Linked DNA regions of Homo sapiens: region 2 is linked to region 1. The links are contacts of gene promoters, found by promoter capture Hi-C in human tissues and cell types (Jung and others, 2019). All regions are on one chromosome and are shown on one strand. The core of a region is centred on a gene start or on the middle of the fragment in contact, and the rest is flanking DNA. Distances in the headings are between cores, read along the strand shown.

What was found. Contacts are between HindIII fragments. The study calls those that stand out against the background at their distance.
Region 2: a contact is called between a fragment that was not itself captured here and the fragment with the promoter of ADAMTSL3 in region 1, in 1 of the 25 tissues and cell types used here (mesendoderm cells).

What each region holds. Positions count from the first base shown.
Region 1 is chr15:83,650,312-83,658,063 of GRCh38, reverse strand. ADAMTSL3 (ADAMTS like 3) reads right to left here and starts at 3,941. Exons shown (of 30, transcript NM_207517.3): 1 at 3,788-3,941; 2 at 2,234-2,335. The coding sequence starts at 2,302. RefSeq lists an enhancer at 5,303-5,472. The HindIII fragment of the contact is 6,298 bases long and covers 3,064-7,752 here.
Region 2 is chr15:84,052,882-84,060,633 of GRCh38, reverse strand. It overlaps the pseudogene LOC642677. Among named protein-coding and RNA genes, the nearest start is that of GOLGA6L4, 180 kb to the left of the region's middle. The HindIII fragment of the contact is 6,643 bases long and covers 1,264-7,752 here.

The sequences.
Region 1 (7,752 bases), core at 2,692-5,191:
ACAGCTCAGCCTCACACATCTAGCAGTTTTCTAACAACCACCTTGGTGGCAGCACATACGAAGCAAGGGTAGACGCCAGGGAACACCTTAAGCCCCACCCAAACACCAAAATCACAAGATACTTCAGAAAGGGCGGCCTTGAGTCAAACCCAGGCTGACCCTACGGAAAAAACAGAGCATCCAACCCACGGACAGGGACACAGGGCTGACCTACCACCCTTCATTAGAACCTTTTCTCAGGGCCTCTGGTGAGACAGACCTAGCCATGCCCACCCACACTCCCTGAAGATCAGGCCCTCCACAGCTGATACCTCTTGAGTGCCCCCTACAGGCTCTACACCAGAAAATACAGGCACTGCGCTTGCTTCAAGCTTCTAATGCTGACAAGCAGCAGCAACAGCAGAATGCTGACATTTATTGTACACTTACTATGTGCCAGACATTGTTTGGTTTGGTTTTTCACTTTTTTCCACTTCACAATGGATTAACTCTTCCAAACAATTCTGAGGTCTATACTAATATTATCTCCTCTGTATAGATGTGAAAACTGAGATGCGATGCAGAGACGTTTGCGTGACACAGTAATGAAGTGGTAGAGCTGGGATCCGAACAGTGAGTGGCGTGAATGATGAAGACTGCTGGTCTGAAATCTCCTTTTATGACCTTCTATGCACACTGCCTGGATACATGGAAACAGCACTGCCACAGGCACACAGATATGGAAAAATCCAAAAGAGGTCAGTGAGTGATTCAAGCTGGGCAAACACTGCCCTTGGCCAAAGGTCAACAGACTGCCTCAAAGCATATTTAAATTTTATAAGGTGAAAGAAGGCAAAATGAACACTGTGCCTTGAAGCCTCAGCCCCATTTGACCAGGAACAAATCTCTGAAGCTCTCAAAGCCTGTTTCAGATCCGCTGATGAGACAGAAACGTAAGTCTCCACGCTTTTACCTCAACAGTCATCTCGCTGGCCAGAGAACCCTAACATCATCCTGAAAAGACTTAACTTTTGTTCTAACAAAAGAGCTCTATTAATATGATTATGGGATAGTATCGATAAAATGGGATAGTGGGGAGAAGATGTACCTTGCTGACCAGTTCTTTGTGCATCACAGAATTCACAGGGCATTGGAGCCAAAAGAGGCTTTAGAGGCACTAAGTCCAAGAAAGTGAAACAAGAGGCAGAGGAGTCTGATTAATTTATCCCAGGGTATATATCTTCATTCATGGATGCATGTTTATTTAACAGACATTTAAGCCCTTAAGTGACAAGTCCCTTCCGAGACCCTGAGGGTACACAGGCCACCAAGCCATGTATTTGAGAAGCTATGTCTGCAGGGAGGGATTGCCTTGTTCTAATTCATAAGACACTGTATGGAGCTAGCAGCAGCCCTTGGGACACAATACTAAGATGTGCCCTGCCTTTAGATCTGGGGCTGCAAACTGCTTGGCTGAATCCAGGCTGCAAACACATTTATCTGCCTTTCAATACTTTAAAAACTGGGAAATTTTGTAAGAAGTCTAGATGATCCAGCTATCTTGAAAAATAAGATCTGGCAATCCTGGGCTTATGTCTCCACTTAGCAACGATCAGATGGAATTGAGTAGAGACTGCTCTTAATAGATGGAGCACGCGTTCTGCACTTTGCCACTGTCTCCGTTACTCTCTATTGTCTCTTAGGCAATGCTAGCCTCATTCCTTTGTTTGAGTCTGTCCTTTAGGCAAATAAAGATGCAATTCATGAGCCGGGTCCTCTCAAGTTGGTTGGAAAAGACAGCAGAAGTCTAAAGAGAGGACTGTGGGATAAAACAGTGGGATATGTGATGATAGATGTAAACTCAGAATATTTATTTAGCAGCTTAGCTAGGGCCAGAACCTGGCTCTGCCCATTGTTTCCTGGTCTCCAGCAACCCAGCCTCTGCTGGGCACATGCAGACAGCCATTCTAGTCTGAAATGACAGGGTCCATCACAGCCCCAGGTCATCACCGGTGTATGGTATCCACAGTGCTATTAAAGCCCTACTCAGGATTCAGAGAGGACCCAAGGGATCTGGATAATCCTTACAGCTAAGCCAACCAGAAATACCATTGGCTAGAGATAGGAAAGAAAGTCTGGTTCTCTGGTGTAGGATTAACACTAATCATGCCACATCTTAGGTGGTATACAATAATGCCTCTGAGTAAACAGAGGGATGTCCACCATTTCCCTTCCCCTCCCTATATGACCTTACCTGCGGGAGGGGAGAGTGCATGAAGACCATCCCTATCAGCACCCACCAGGGGCTCGTCCAGGAAGCCATGGGGTCTAGTCTCCTCCGGGTCTCAGTTGTAGCCTACAAACGAGGAAAGAGTTCATTACCAACCAGCTCTGGCCCCCATGGCAGTAAACCGTGACTTAAGCGACCCATTAGATGGAGGGACCCTGAAGCCCATATACTATTTTGGAAAGGTTTGTGTTGGCCCAGGTTGCCGCTGCCTACTGCAGGGTGCAGGCTAACTGGGCTCCCTTTAGAAGGTCCACAACAAAGTCAGGCGAGGGCTGGACCTGTCTCCAGTGGGCATCTCATACCTCCAGCTCTTCAGAAGCTGAGATATCCCTGCCCAAGCCTATCTGTCAGCAGCAGGGTGTCGCTATTGGCATTTGACTCAGGAAGCCAGCACAGAGCCAAGGTTTAGGCTAGCTTCTGCTGCTCGCGGCAAAAATGAGTCTAAGACAACAAAGCCGCCCAGAGAGGGAAAGGACCTGCCTAAGGTCACACAGCAAGATAGTGACATTTTAGGGCTGAAACGCAGATCTTCTGATAGTTCAAGGCTTTCCTCGCTAGATGACACCGTGCGCCCTCGAGGTCCGGGACCCACACCCAGAGAGACGCCTGAGAGCTAAGTTCAGGGAGGTTTGGAGGACACAGCCCCTGAGCCAGCCTAACACAATCTCCTAAAAGTAGGTGAGGGCCAGCCAGCAGAGGTCAGCTGAAACCAGGAGGGAAGCGGGGACTTTTTCCCTTACTTTTCCTGTCAATTTACAGGGAAATCAGTATGAGTCGAGACTGGAAAAGCCGAGGTCACACTCGACTCCCGCTTCGCCTCGCGGGCGCCTTGGCGGAGCTGGTGTCCGGGGGCGGGTCGGTGGCTTCTCTCCATCTGGAGAAGGCATTAAGGGCCTGGTCTAATGTGATCCGCAAATGTGCTGCTGTTTCCGACCTGAGGCGGCGACTCCTGGCTGAAGGGAGGCGGCCAGTGCGGGGCCCTGGGACTCTGCGCCACCCTCGCCTGCTCGCACCAGCCTTCCGAGTGCACACTCCTCCGACTACCCGCTGCCTCGAAGTCGCTCCTCCAGTGCCTCCGCCGCGTCCCGGTCACCCCCACGCCCACTTTCCACGATCGCGCGTCGCCTCAACCCCCGGCGTTCTGGGCGCTCGCTACCCAGTGGTCAACCGGCCGGACCTTCGGACCCGCGAGGTTTCTGCTTAGTAACTCCCAATCCTGAAAAACTCCAACCCTGTGGAGTTCCCCCATAATCAAGAACGCCCCTCAGCCCGCGAACTGCCGCCGAAAGACTCTCCCTGAACCTTCCGGGACGGCACGAAGCGCGCCCGACCCGAGGTGCCCAGCAGTGAGGAGCACCCCAGTCCTGAGGCCCCCTGGGGCCCGCGTGGCACGCCCCGACTCTGCTTGGAGACCCCCAACTTGCTTAGAGAGGCCACTGCTCCAAGTCTTACTCCCTCTGGGGAGCGCCTTCCCCCGACCCCTGAGGGGCCGCCCTGCGCCGAGCTCGGTGCACCCACCTTGCGCCGCAGAAGTATCTGGGACGTGCAGCCCCGGGGCCGCGCGGGCTCGGCGCGCGCTGGGGAGAAGTTGGCAGAAGCCGCCCGTCAACACCTCGTGCGGAATCCGGCACCAGGACCTTCCCCGACGCCGGCCTCCAGCCCGCGGCGCCGCAGTCGCCGCCGCCGCCGCGAAGTTAAATGGGGCTGGGACGGGGGCTGCCCCGCCTCTCCCGCCCCCTCCGGGCGCGCAGAGCGCTGCGCTGGCCCCGGCCCAGAGGCGGAGGGCGCGCGCCGCCACCTGCACCGCCCGGCAAGTGCACGGCGCGCCCAGGCGCCCGTCAGCCTGCGCGCCGGCACCGCGCCCTCGGCTTGAGCTGGAGGCGCCGGGGGCGCGAAGAGACGCCGTGTGGGGCCAGGCCCGGGCCGCTCGGAGCGCGCGGGGCCGCGGCGACGGCGGGACTCGGCTGGAACGCTCCTCCGCCCGCTTCCTGGAAGCCACTCCTCGCCCTGGGCCGGCCGCCAGGCGTTGTGCCAAGAGCCGGGATTGCCGACGCCGCCACCGCCGCCGCCGGCAGGCGCACTGGGGAAAGGCGGCCGCTGCGCCGCAAGCCAGCCTGGCCGCCCCGCCTCAGCCGGAGCCGGAGCAGGGATGCCGTCGCTCCCCCCGAGCCCACCCCCGGCCCCACCTCCCATAGCCTCCACCCACCCCGCCCAGACCCGGGCGCCAGCTCTGCAAAGTCAGGCCCAGCAGCCACACAGAGGTTTGCCCGGAACCGCTGGCTCGTGCCTAAGAGCCATAGGCACTCCTGGCCAGGCAGGACCATAGTGGAGACCAATGGCCCTCTCCTGGCCTGCGCCTCCTCCGCGCAGCATAGACGCCACACAAGGGACTGTGGAGCGCTCACTGCCCAGAGGCCTGGGACCTTTGGCAGCCAGGGACCACGAGGATCTTGCAGGAGCGCCTCTTAACTGGGTACCTGGCGCCTCCTTGTCTGAGCCGGGCTTGGGGAACTGAGAGCTCCACAGGTGCCAGAATCATGCCGTGTCCAGGCCTGGGATTTGGGGTTGGGGGGAAGAGTGTCGCGGACAAGAGACTGGGGTGAGTTGCCTGTGTACTTCTGGAGGTGAGGAGAAGTAAAAGGAAATGTTTGTCCCTGTCCTTGTCCTAGTCCCAGCAGGATAAGCCAAGGGCCAGGAGATTGATCTTAAAGGCTGCATTATGCCCCCACCTAAGTCCTACCACAGTCGCCATTTCCTTGGGTGTCTGTCGAGTACCAAGCTCTTTGTGTCTATCTGATCTTCACAGCAGCAGTAGTTCGAGCATTATCCCATTTCACCTAGGATAAATCTGAGGCTGGGAGGATAACTTGCCCACCATGAGTGGAGAAGCCAGGACTGGAACCCCTATCTGCCTCTCTCTAGAGCCTGGACTGTTCACCCCTAAAGTTGTTCTCCTGCCTTCTCTGTGGTTGCTGCGTTCCGGTTACTGCTAGAGCTTTGCCAAGAGCAATTGGCCCTGCCTGCTTTCCTCACTCATTCTTCCCTTACTTACTCTGGTGACTTCCTCTGACCAAGAAGAGGATCTTCAAGGCTGTCTCTCCACTCTATGTAAAATGATTGGACTTGTGGCAAGTGAGCAGAGGACAGGTCAGTGTGGAGACAGGAGAGGTAAGAGTAGCCAGTGAAGGGTAGGGAGGGCTGGGCTAAACTAGAACTAACTCATCTATGGACAATCGATCCTTTTTATTTACTGTAGTTGTGGTCTATAAAGTCACAGAACAACGAATTTGTGAATATGGAGCCATTGTTCCTAGGGGAAATATAGAGTTGGGTTCCTGCAAGCTCACAATATTTTTGTCAATCAATCAACACATTGCCTTATTTTATGCATGTTTCTGTTTAAAGACGCCTTACTTAACATCTATTGTTGATTCCTGAACACTGAGCTCACAGCCTACAGTGCTGTAACTCATGCCTGAATGAAGCTTATCTAACTTACGTATTTTCTCTGCAACACACATCCCAGCCTTCTTCCACTTAGGAACGCTAGACTTCACTTCAGCACTGTGCCTGGGGGGTGCTTTAAGCAGCAAAATCATCAAAAAAAAGACCAAAAAAATGTGAAAACATGGCAATGAAGAGAACTTTTGGGCCACTCATTTACAGTGTGAAAGCTGAAACAAGAAGACAGAGGGTTGACTGGTTGGACCTTAGCTTCCAACATGTGTCTCAAGAGACTCAAAACGTTCAGCACTGGTTCAATGACTTTGAAAGTGCTGCAGCTATTGATTATGAGGTGTTAAAATAAAAACTTTAGACAAATTTAACAGAGGTTAATTGAGCAAAGAACAATTTGAAAATAGGGCAGCCCCCCTCAGCCCCAAAACAAAATAGATTCAGAGCAACTCTGGGGCTTCCACATAGTCAGATAATATTTATGGATAGAAAACGGAATATGATGAACAGAAAACGGAAATGAGGTACAGAAACAGCTGGATTGGTTACAGCTCGGCATTTGCCTTATTTAAACATGGTTTAAACAGTTGACCGCCTGTGATTGGCCAAAACTCTGTGACTGCTTCAAGAGTAGGTTACAGTCTGTTTACACATCATCAGGTTACAGTTTACTATGTACAGAGAGACCTTTAGGCCGAACTTAAAATATGTAAGAAGGCAACTTTAGGCTAAACTTAATTTAACGGAGGTGACAAATAAATTTTACCCAGTAGCTGAATTCACAATAAGGAATCTGCAAATAATGAGAATTGATTTTTCGTGCTTCTCATATCAGAGTATCAGTAAAGGAATAGCCACATTAACATTCAAAACACTTAGGATGTGGCAGGCACTGTTCCAGATACTTTGCTTATACCGAGTCATCCCATCATCACAACAGCCTATGGGGTAGATATTATTTTTATTCCCATTTTGCAAATGAGGAAACTGAAGTGGAAAGGTTTAAATACCTCATGTTCTTAGCAACTAGACGATACCACTCCTCATCGTTCATATTCTAAAACTAGCCCCACCATATCATGGAGTCAAATGCAAAAAAGTCACATGAATATGCAAGATGAAATGGAGAATTCAAAGAAATATTATGCTTGTGCAGTGGTGGCTGCATTAAGCAGAGCTCCCGGTGTCTGCAACTCAAGAAGTCACTGAGAATGCCTCTGGAGTTGGGGGACTTTGCTGGGAACATTTGAGATGCACTGCTCTGTTTTAAGGTATTAATGGCTCAGCAGGACTTCCTGTCTCATCTCCCTTGGGCAATCTGACTCCTGAGCCAGCCTCCAAGGAGTGCCCCACACCAAGTACTAAGACCAGGACTGAGCCTTTCTCTCCCACAGGTTCCATCTAGCAGGAGGCCAGCCCCCTCAAAGAGCAGGTGTTCCAGTAGCGAAAAGTAGTAGAGAAAACATCACCAATACCTTTATAGAACTTTTGCCTTCCAGTTAACCCTAGCAGGTCAAGCAAACCTGTGTGAGTGGCCAAGGTACTGTAAGTTAGGACAACAAAGAGCTGCAGAGGACAGCCTCCACTGGGGGTGCTGGCTGGACTTCACAGATGTTATGCGCAGAATCATGGCCTCACCACCCCTCAGTCACCTCTTCCCTCACCCCTTCCCTCAGTCACTCACCCACACTTCCCTCCCATCCTTACTTCCTCACCTGAGGCTTGGCCCAAATGTTTAAATAAGACATTGCCAAAGGCATGGTGTGGTGGGAGATCAGGAATTGGGAAGAACAGGAATGAATAAACCCCAAAGCAGCTAATCTGGCTGATTTGGCTGTTGAGTGTAGCCACCTACCCAATCACTATCTGGGGAGGTTCAGGCCCCTCCCTGCCTACTTCCTGGACTTCCTCCCTGTGAGAACACCCACCACCTGGGGACAATGGCAATGCATTTAGACTCTGAAGGGTCGAGGAAACTGAGTTCCATTTCCTCCCTAAGATCCAACTTCTTGGCTTCCTGGCTTTCA
Region 2 (7,752 bases), core at 3,336-5,835, 400 kb before region 1:
TGAGTAAAAAAGCATAGAACCAAAAAATAAAAGTTATTCAGTACACATGGTGAGGACCAGAAGGTTTCAGGGATGAGAGATTGGGGTGTAATTCTATAAAGGTAGACTGAGATCAGTTTGGGAAGAACCTTGATTGCCAGGCTGAGGGGCTTGACATAAGTATAGATTTTTAAAAATCTTCTTTTAAGGGCACCAGACAGCTGTAGAAGCAAAAAACTAAAACTTCAGAGAGATAGGAGCCCTTCCTCAGTGAGTTGATATGGCCAGCCATTTACTTCTCTGGGAACACTTGTCAAGTCTAGGCCTATGCTGAGGATTGAGCTTGGCATAAGCAGAGAAACTCTAGTAGGGGAAAGAGAAAGCAGTGGAACACTTGAATGTGGGCTGATAGGACTAACTGAAATCTAGAAGAGCCCTAGATACATGGCTGGTTTTCAATGTGAGACATTCACTGCGTGTTTGCAGGGAAGGGAGTGTGGTGTGCTGAGAGGCTGGGCCAGAAAAATCCCACAGGAATATCCCACAGTCTTATTTGAGAGTAAATGCTTAGAAGAGAGTTCCACTAGAATGAGGGCCTTACTACAAACACACCTCAAGCCTTGTTCTTGAGACATTTGAAACTAGAGTAAGACTATGTCTAACTAAAGGTGCCATTGAGCCCTAATCTAGCTCAGACTCTGGTAAGAATGAGGTGATCTGCCCTGTATTTTACCATAGGAAAGAACAAATTGTCTCTGTTGAAAATAACACTGATTTTAGTTTTTATGATTCTCTTATACACAACATCTAGCATATAGTAAAATGTTATGAGGCCTATGAAGAACCAGGAAATATTTGAAGAGATAATGGTCAAGACTTTTCCAAAATTGATGAAAGAATCAGCCCACAGATTCAAGAAGCTCAGCAAACTCCAAAATAAACACATAGGAAACCACCCTAGACAACTATTGTCAAACTTCGGAAAACCAGGTAAAGATAAAGTCTTAAAAGTAGCAAGTGAAAAACTATACGTTATCTACAAAAAGAAAAAGTTATATCTGACTTTTAAACAGAATGATACATGACTTTTCAACAGAAGCTCTGGAAGTTAAATGACAGTGAAATGACACTTTAAAAGTGCTAAAGGTGCCAGAAGGATCTAGAATTTTAAAGCCAGCAAATCTGAGAATTATATATCTAGCAAAAATGCCCTTTAAAAATTTAAGCAAAGTAAAAATGTTTTCAGACAAAAAAGAAAAAGCTGAGATGCCTACTACAAATGTATTAAAGGGAATTGTTTAGTTAAAAGGAAACTTACTCCAGATAGAAGCATGAAATGCAGGAAGGAATGAAGCACACAGAAAGGGTAAATATGTGGGTAAATATAAAAGAATATTGACAACTGGAAGTCAAAATTACTATATTATGTTTTTACACAAATATGAAAGTAAAATATGTTAGAACAGTGGCACAAAAGGCAAGAGGAGTTAAATAGAATTAAATTGCTTACAGGTTCTTCCATGGTAGACGTGGTAAAAATGTCCATTTAAGTTTGAGCCAGAAAAATCTCATGACAAGTCAAAAATTCATTTTTATTTTTAAAACATAGAAAGATAAAATTCTAATAGTAAAGTAGAATAATAAAAATGCCATTTAGTAATACAAAAGAAGGCAGGAAATAAGGGGTATGGGAACAAAGAAGGGAAAAATCAAAAGCAAATAGCAATACAGTCAACTTAAGCCCAGCTAGATCATTACATTAAGTGTAAATGAACAAAATATTTTGATTAAAACTCAAAGAGTGATTTTTCACACATTAAAAAGATATTATTTTTAAAAATATGCCAATAATTTACAACTTACATAAAATGGATAAATTTTTTGAAAAATGCAATTTACCAAAAGTAACCCAAGAAGAAATAAAAATTCAAAATAGCCCTATATCTGTAAAGGAAATTGAATTTGTAGAATTGAAGGTGTAATTTTAAACCTCACCATAAAGAATTCCAGAATTTTCAGATTCTGTGTAGGATGCAGGAAGTCAGAAAGATTATGTCCCCAACATAACAATAAGAAAAAGCCAGATAATCTACAAAATCATAAATGTGTATGAATCCTTTAGAAACCTGAGATCACAGGTTAACCAATTAGCCTGACATTAAGGAAAAACAACTTCCACCCAGTTGAGACAGGAGGCAAGCACTGTTTCACCCAAAGCAGGGCATGGAATGAAGACTAGCTGTTACAAAAGTGGATAAAATAATTCATTTACATCTTTAGTTGCTAAAGACTTGAGTGTGAACTACTGTGAGAGTATAGAAGCTCTGAGAACTTCAGACACTAAAGGGGGAGTTCAAAACCACTCATAGACTCTTCCCTATGGATGTTCACTCTGTGATCATCAGAAAGATTGGGAGAAAGGCTGGAGGCCACAGAAAGTTTCCTTTGTAGTGCGGGCATGGAGAGAAGAATGGTTGTTGTTGCGAAAGAAAAAAATAGCAGGAAGCTCCATTTGAATGACTCTAACCTACAGAACAAAAGCATTAATCCACTGCGGGAGAGACATCACTCTGACAACCCCAATGAATAGCTGAAGATGTATTGTACCTTGAGGAAAGATAAAGGAAAAACAACAACAAGAAGCAAAATAAAACCAAACCTTGAACATGAAGAAAGAACAGGAAACTGTCTCGGGACCAACAATTAGAGACCTACTACATCAAGTGAAGGAGCAGGTGCACTGAGAGAGCCCTGCTTCTGAGGCCCGGGGGCACAGGGACTGCCTAAGACTGAAGCTGAACCAGGACAACAGAGAAACCACCACACACTCACCCTCCATTTCCCAAACACAAAATTCTAAATGTGTATGCCCTTAACACTTGAGCTTCAAATACACAAAACATAAACTTATAGTACTAACATAAGAAATGTAAAAACATGCATTTGTAGTTGGAGACTTCAACACTCTCTTTAAGTAATCTATAGAATATAGACAGGAAATGAATAAGGATATAAAGACCTGAAAAACACTATCAACAGTTGTCCAAATTGACATTTGCAAAGCACTTCTGTCAACAATAACAGAATACACATTCTTTTCAAGTGCACATGAAATGTTCATTCAGATAAACTATATTCGGAGCCATAAAACAAACCTTAACAAATATAAAAGAATTGAAAGCATGCAATGTGTGGTTTTGATCATAACAGAATTGAATTAAACATCAATAATAGAAAAAAAGTGGGAAAATCCCCCAATATTTGGAAATTACACAGCAAATTTCTAAATAACGAATGGTTTTAAGCAAAAGTAAAAGAAATTAGAAAGTATTTTGAATTTAATGAAAATATAGTATACCAAAATCTGAGAGATGCATCTAAAGCAATACTTTGAGGAAAATTTATAGCATTTAAGGTTCATATTAGAAAAGAAAGTCTTAAATCAACAGTCTAAACCTTCATTGTATGAAACTAGAAAAATAAGAGCAAATTAAATCCAAAGCAAAGTAGAAGGAAATAAATGAGGATAACAGCAGCAATCAATAAATTTGAAAACAGAAAAACAATGAAACCAAAAATTGGTTCTATTAAAAGATAATAAAGTTGATAAACCAAAAGAGAGAAGACACCAATTACAAATATCAAGAATGAAAGAGAATAGCACTACAGACCTTATAGACGTTTATTTTACATTGTGGCCTCTTCTTTTTTCTTTTTCTTATTTTTGACAATTTTATCAGGTTGCCATTCATTCCATGTTTGCTTCAAGAAGGAAGACATTAATATTTAGAAGGTAATATCAACAGTATTTGAAAACTACTTGAAAAGGAGAGAAGGAAATGAGGGAGAAAAAGTCAATTAAACGGAACCTTAGCCTGACTTGCCAAATTCACAACAGAAACTTTGTAGGTATGTTATTTTCTGGGGAACGTGAGTCTGAGTGAGATAATTAATTGGGGCATGCTAAGTTTTCATTTATCTGAGGGACATCCAAATAAAGATGTCTAGTAGGTGGATAAATATGTGGGTTGGTGTTTGAAGGGAGGTCTGAAGTAGAGATTCAAGTTTGGGAGTCACCACCTTACAGGTAGTATTAAAACCATGGGAGTAGATTGGTGATATGTAGATTGAAAAAGCTGAGGCCAAGGATGATGTCCCCTGACTTTCTAAAAGTAGTTTCCAATTCCTTGGTACCACAAGACACCACAGGGAGCAGTCCCAAGTACCAGGAAAAAGAGCTAGCATAAGCAACTCAAGACTTTTGTCCTCAAAGAAGAACCTAGAACAGCTCACTATATTAAAATGGGGTTGGAGCTGTGTATACAAATAGTGGGCAAGTGCATTCAGACACTTCTTGGACTTAAACCTGTTCAGAAGAGAATAAACTTTCTATCCAGATTTTAGTGGCTAGACATAAAAAGTGAGCTGAGGAAACATCTAACAAGGGCAATAGTGGAGCTGCCACATAACCAAACTGTATTTTTAGACGTGGACAGCATTGTTTGTTTTCTTGTTTGTTTTTTCCATAAGTATCATAAAACACTAAAAACAGATGATAAAGATTATGATGTTTTAAAGATGCTGCTAGAATGTTATCAAATATTCCATAACAGATAATAAATATTCCAGGCATATGAGCATAGGCATATTTATAGGGAGAAAATCAATTTTCTGCAATTATGTAGAACTTACATTCATACTATTGTATGCTATCACATCCATCTCTCAGTGTCCAAATTCTTGCTTCCATTTTGAAAACCAAAGCTGGTTTGGTGAGGGAGAAATATTCTCTTCTGTTTACTCTCTTATAATGAAAATCTTTTTTCTCTTGTGTGGTAGCAAGAATTCTCCCTATATGATTGTGTGGAACTATAAACCTTCGATAACATCTCTGATTCCTTTTAGTTAGTGAAAAATAGTGTTATACTTTTATACTTTAGTCTGCAAAGAAGAGAGATTCCCTCATGATACCTCAAGAAAAAAAGGCTCTGGTAAAGCTTCATGTGAACTGAAAATGGAAAGCTATCAGGTGCCCAGGGAGCTTGAAGGAAGAGCTTTTCCCTTCATCTCCGCAATGAGCTACATGATTTCTCTCACAGCATCTTCACTTCCCTTCACTCATCTGCTCTGATTGCTGCTTTACTAACTGGCCACCTCTGCCTAGTTATCATTTCTGTTTCTTTAAAGGTCTGTTTTGAATGTAACTTCAGCTTTCCATAGTTCTTCAGCTCTACTTCCTGGCATCCTTTTCAATTCTCCCATTTCTATCTCACTCATTATTTTCAATTTTAGGTTTACAAGAATAAGAATGCTTGATCTAGCTCATCTTTTCTGTCAGTTTGTCTTAAAGGTCTCTGCTAGCCTAAAGGTCGCCTATTCTTGAGTCAGGTGCAGTCTCTCATCCAGACATCAGTAACTTAATCATTTAGTCCAAAACTTGGCCATTTTGGCAAAAATGGCTAAGCATTTTTTCTCTTCAAAGAAGATATCCACATAATAAGTTTTCAAAGTTTGGCCTTTCCTGTAAATATTGCATAGACTTTAGTCCAGATTTTAGTACGTTATCTTGTGTAATAAATTTCTACCTTTTATAAATTAACTTTTGGTATTTAGAAATATATATTTTGGCGTGAAGTCTATTCTATGATATTTCCTAGCTTACTATCTTCCTCATGGAGAAATAGAAAACACAAATAATCCTTAGTTGAAATATAAACATTTTAGTTTTAGTGAAGTGTACCATTACCAACTTGTAATGGTGTTACAAGTCATCATTCTGTATACACTAGCGTGACCCAAAATGCTCCACAGTCTAGGTAAACTACAGGAAGTAAGCTTAAGGTTATTTAACTTCCAAACCCCAGATCTCTGCTCTGATGGTCACTTGAAATTCTACAATTTCAAACACCTCTGAAGACATTCAGTTAAGGCCTCTGGCCTCTAGATGGCCCTCTATCTTTTGGGAATGCCTTAAAGTCCATTTCATGAGGGAAAGTTGAAGCCAGTGATCTTTCTGGGATAGCACAAGTTACCCTGTATCTTTGCTCAAGGAATTCTTTCTGTAGGCTTCCTAGAGGATACCAGAATTAAATTTTTCTCCCCTTTGAAGAGTCTCTCCAAAGCAAGGAGTAATACCTGTATTACTTTTGCCCACCCATGAAGGGCACTTGATTTTATTTCAAGCCCTGGCTTTTAGACGTACCTTAGCATTTTGTGAGTTGTAATTAAAATCCCAACCTCTTCCTAGGAATACAACCATAATCTCCTAAACTCTGTCCTCACCTCCAACACAGTCCTTTTGGCTTTCAAGAACTATCCACAATCAGGCTCAGATGTGCTTTTCCTTTGTTATGTAATCAGATGAATCTGAAAGTGGAAAGTTACATGTATTAAAGTGAGGAGATGGGTAGAGGAAGGTGGAAATGAAGAAAAAGAACAAATCTGAAAGGAATCAGAGAAACTGTATTCTGATACTATTGTTTAGATTTCTAAAGGAAATGGAAAGATGTTTGGCAATGAGAGAAGTCAGTTATGATTTTTAGAAGATGGTTGTTTTCTTCAGCATTTAAAACTGTTTTTGCTTTGATATAATTTTGAAGACGATTATAAAGCTTGGGACCTTCGTAAAAGTGAACTTTATAAGCCAGAACGAACTTACCACCCCCCTACTGTGAAATTTGGAAATTCAACTACATTCCAGGATGACTTTGTTCCTCAGGAGATAAAGCCTAGGCAAAGCTTTAAACCCTTCTCTGTGGTCAAACGTTCTACAGCCCCTTTTAATGGTATTACAAGTAATCGCCTTGATTATATACCTCATCAGCTTGAACTCAAGTTTGAAAGGCCAAAAGAAGTTTACAAACCAACTGACCAACGCTTTGAGGATTTCACAACTCACCGGTATGACTTTTGGGGTCTTATTTGGTGAAACTGCAAAACTCTGCAGACCTGTACACACCAGAGTGACCCAGAATGCTCGGTTTGAAGGAAGCACTGAATTCCGTGAAAGTTTTCAACCATGGGAAATCCCACGACCGGAGGTCAAGAAAGTACCAGAGTATGTGCCTCCTACAGGTAGCATGCTGTTAAACAGCACAAGCCATCTTGACTATGTTCCGTATCAGGCCAACCGTGTTGTTCCCATCAGGCCAGTTTCTCGTAGAAGAAGTAACAGTTTTCCTTTCCAAGGAAAAAGCACCATGAAAGATTTTCCAGCATGGGAAAGTTGTCGTCAAGGACTTATTAAGAAGCAGCAGCAGATTCCCAACCCATCTGGAAAATTTGATGGTTTGAGCACTTTCAGATCTCACTATTTGCAACATGAATTGATTCCAACAGAGAGTTGCAAACCTTTAAATATTGCTTTTAAGAGTTCTGTTCCATTTGATGATGTAACCATGTACTCTGTAGAGTACACACCGAAAAAACAGGAAATTTGCCCAGCTAGCTATCCCTCTCCTCCAGGTTATATTTTTGAAAATACAAATTCCCAAGGTCATAAATTCTTCTGCAAGATTACTCCCGCAGTGAAGGCCTTCTAATAACCAAATTGTGCTTAAAAGGAAGCTACTAATAAGTTGTTGGTTTTCCAAGAGAAAACTCAATTTTTGTAGTGAAAAAAATTTATGATATAATAAATCTTTTTTGTTTGTTTGTTTTTGAGAGGGAGTCTCGCTCTGTTGCCCAGGCTGGAGTGCAGTGGTGCAATCTCAGCTCACTGCAAGCTCCGCCTCCTGGGTTCATGCCATTCTTCTGCCTCAGCCTCCCGAGTAG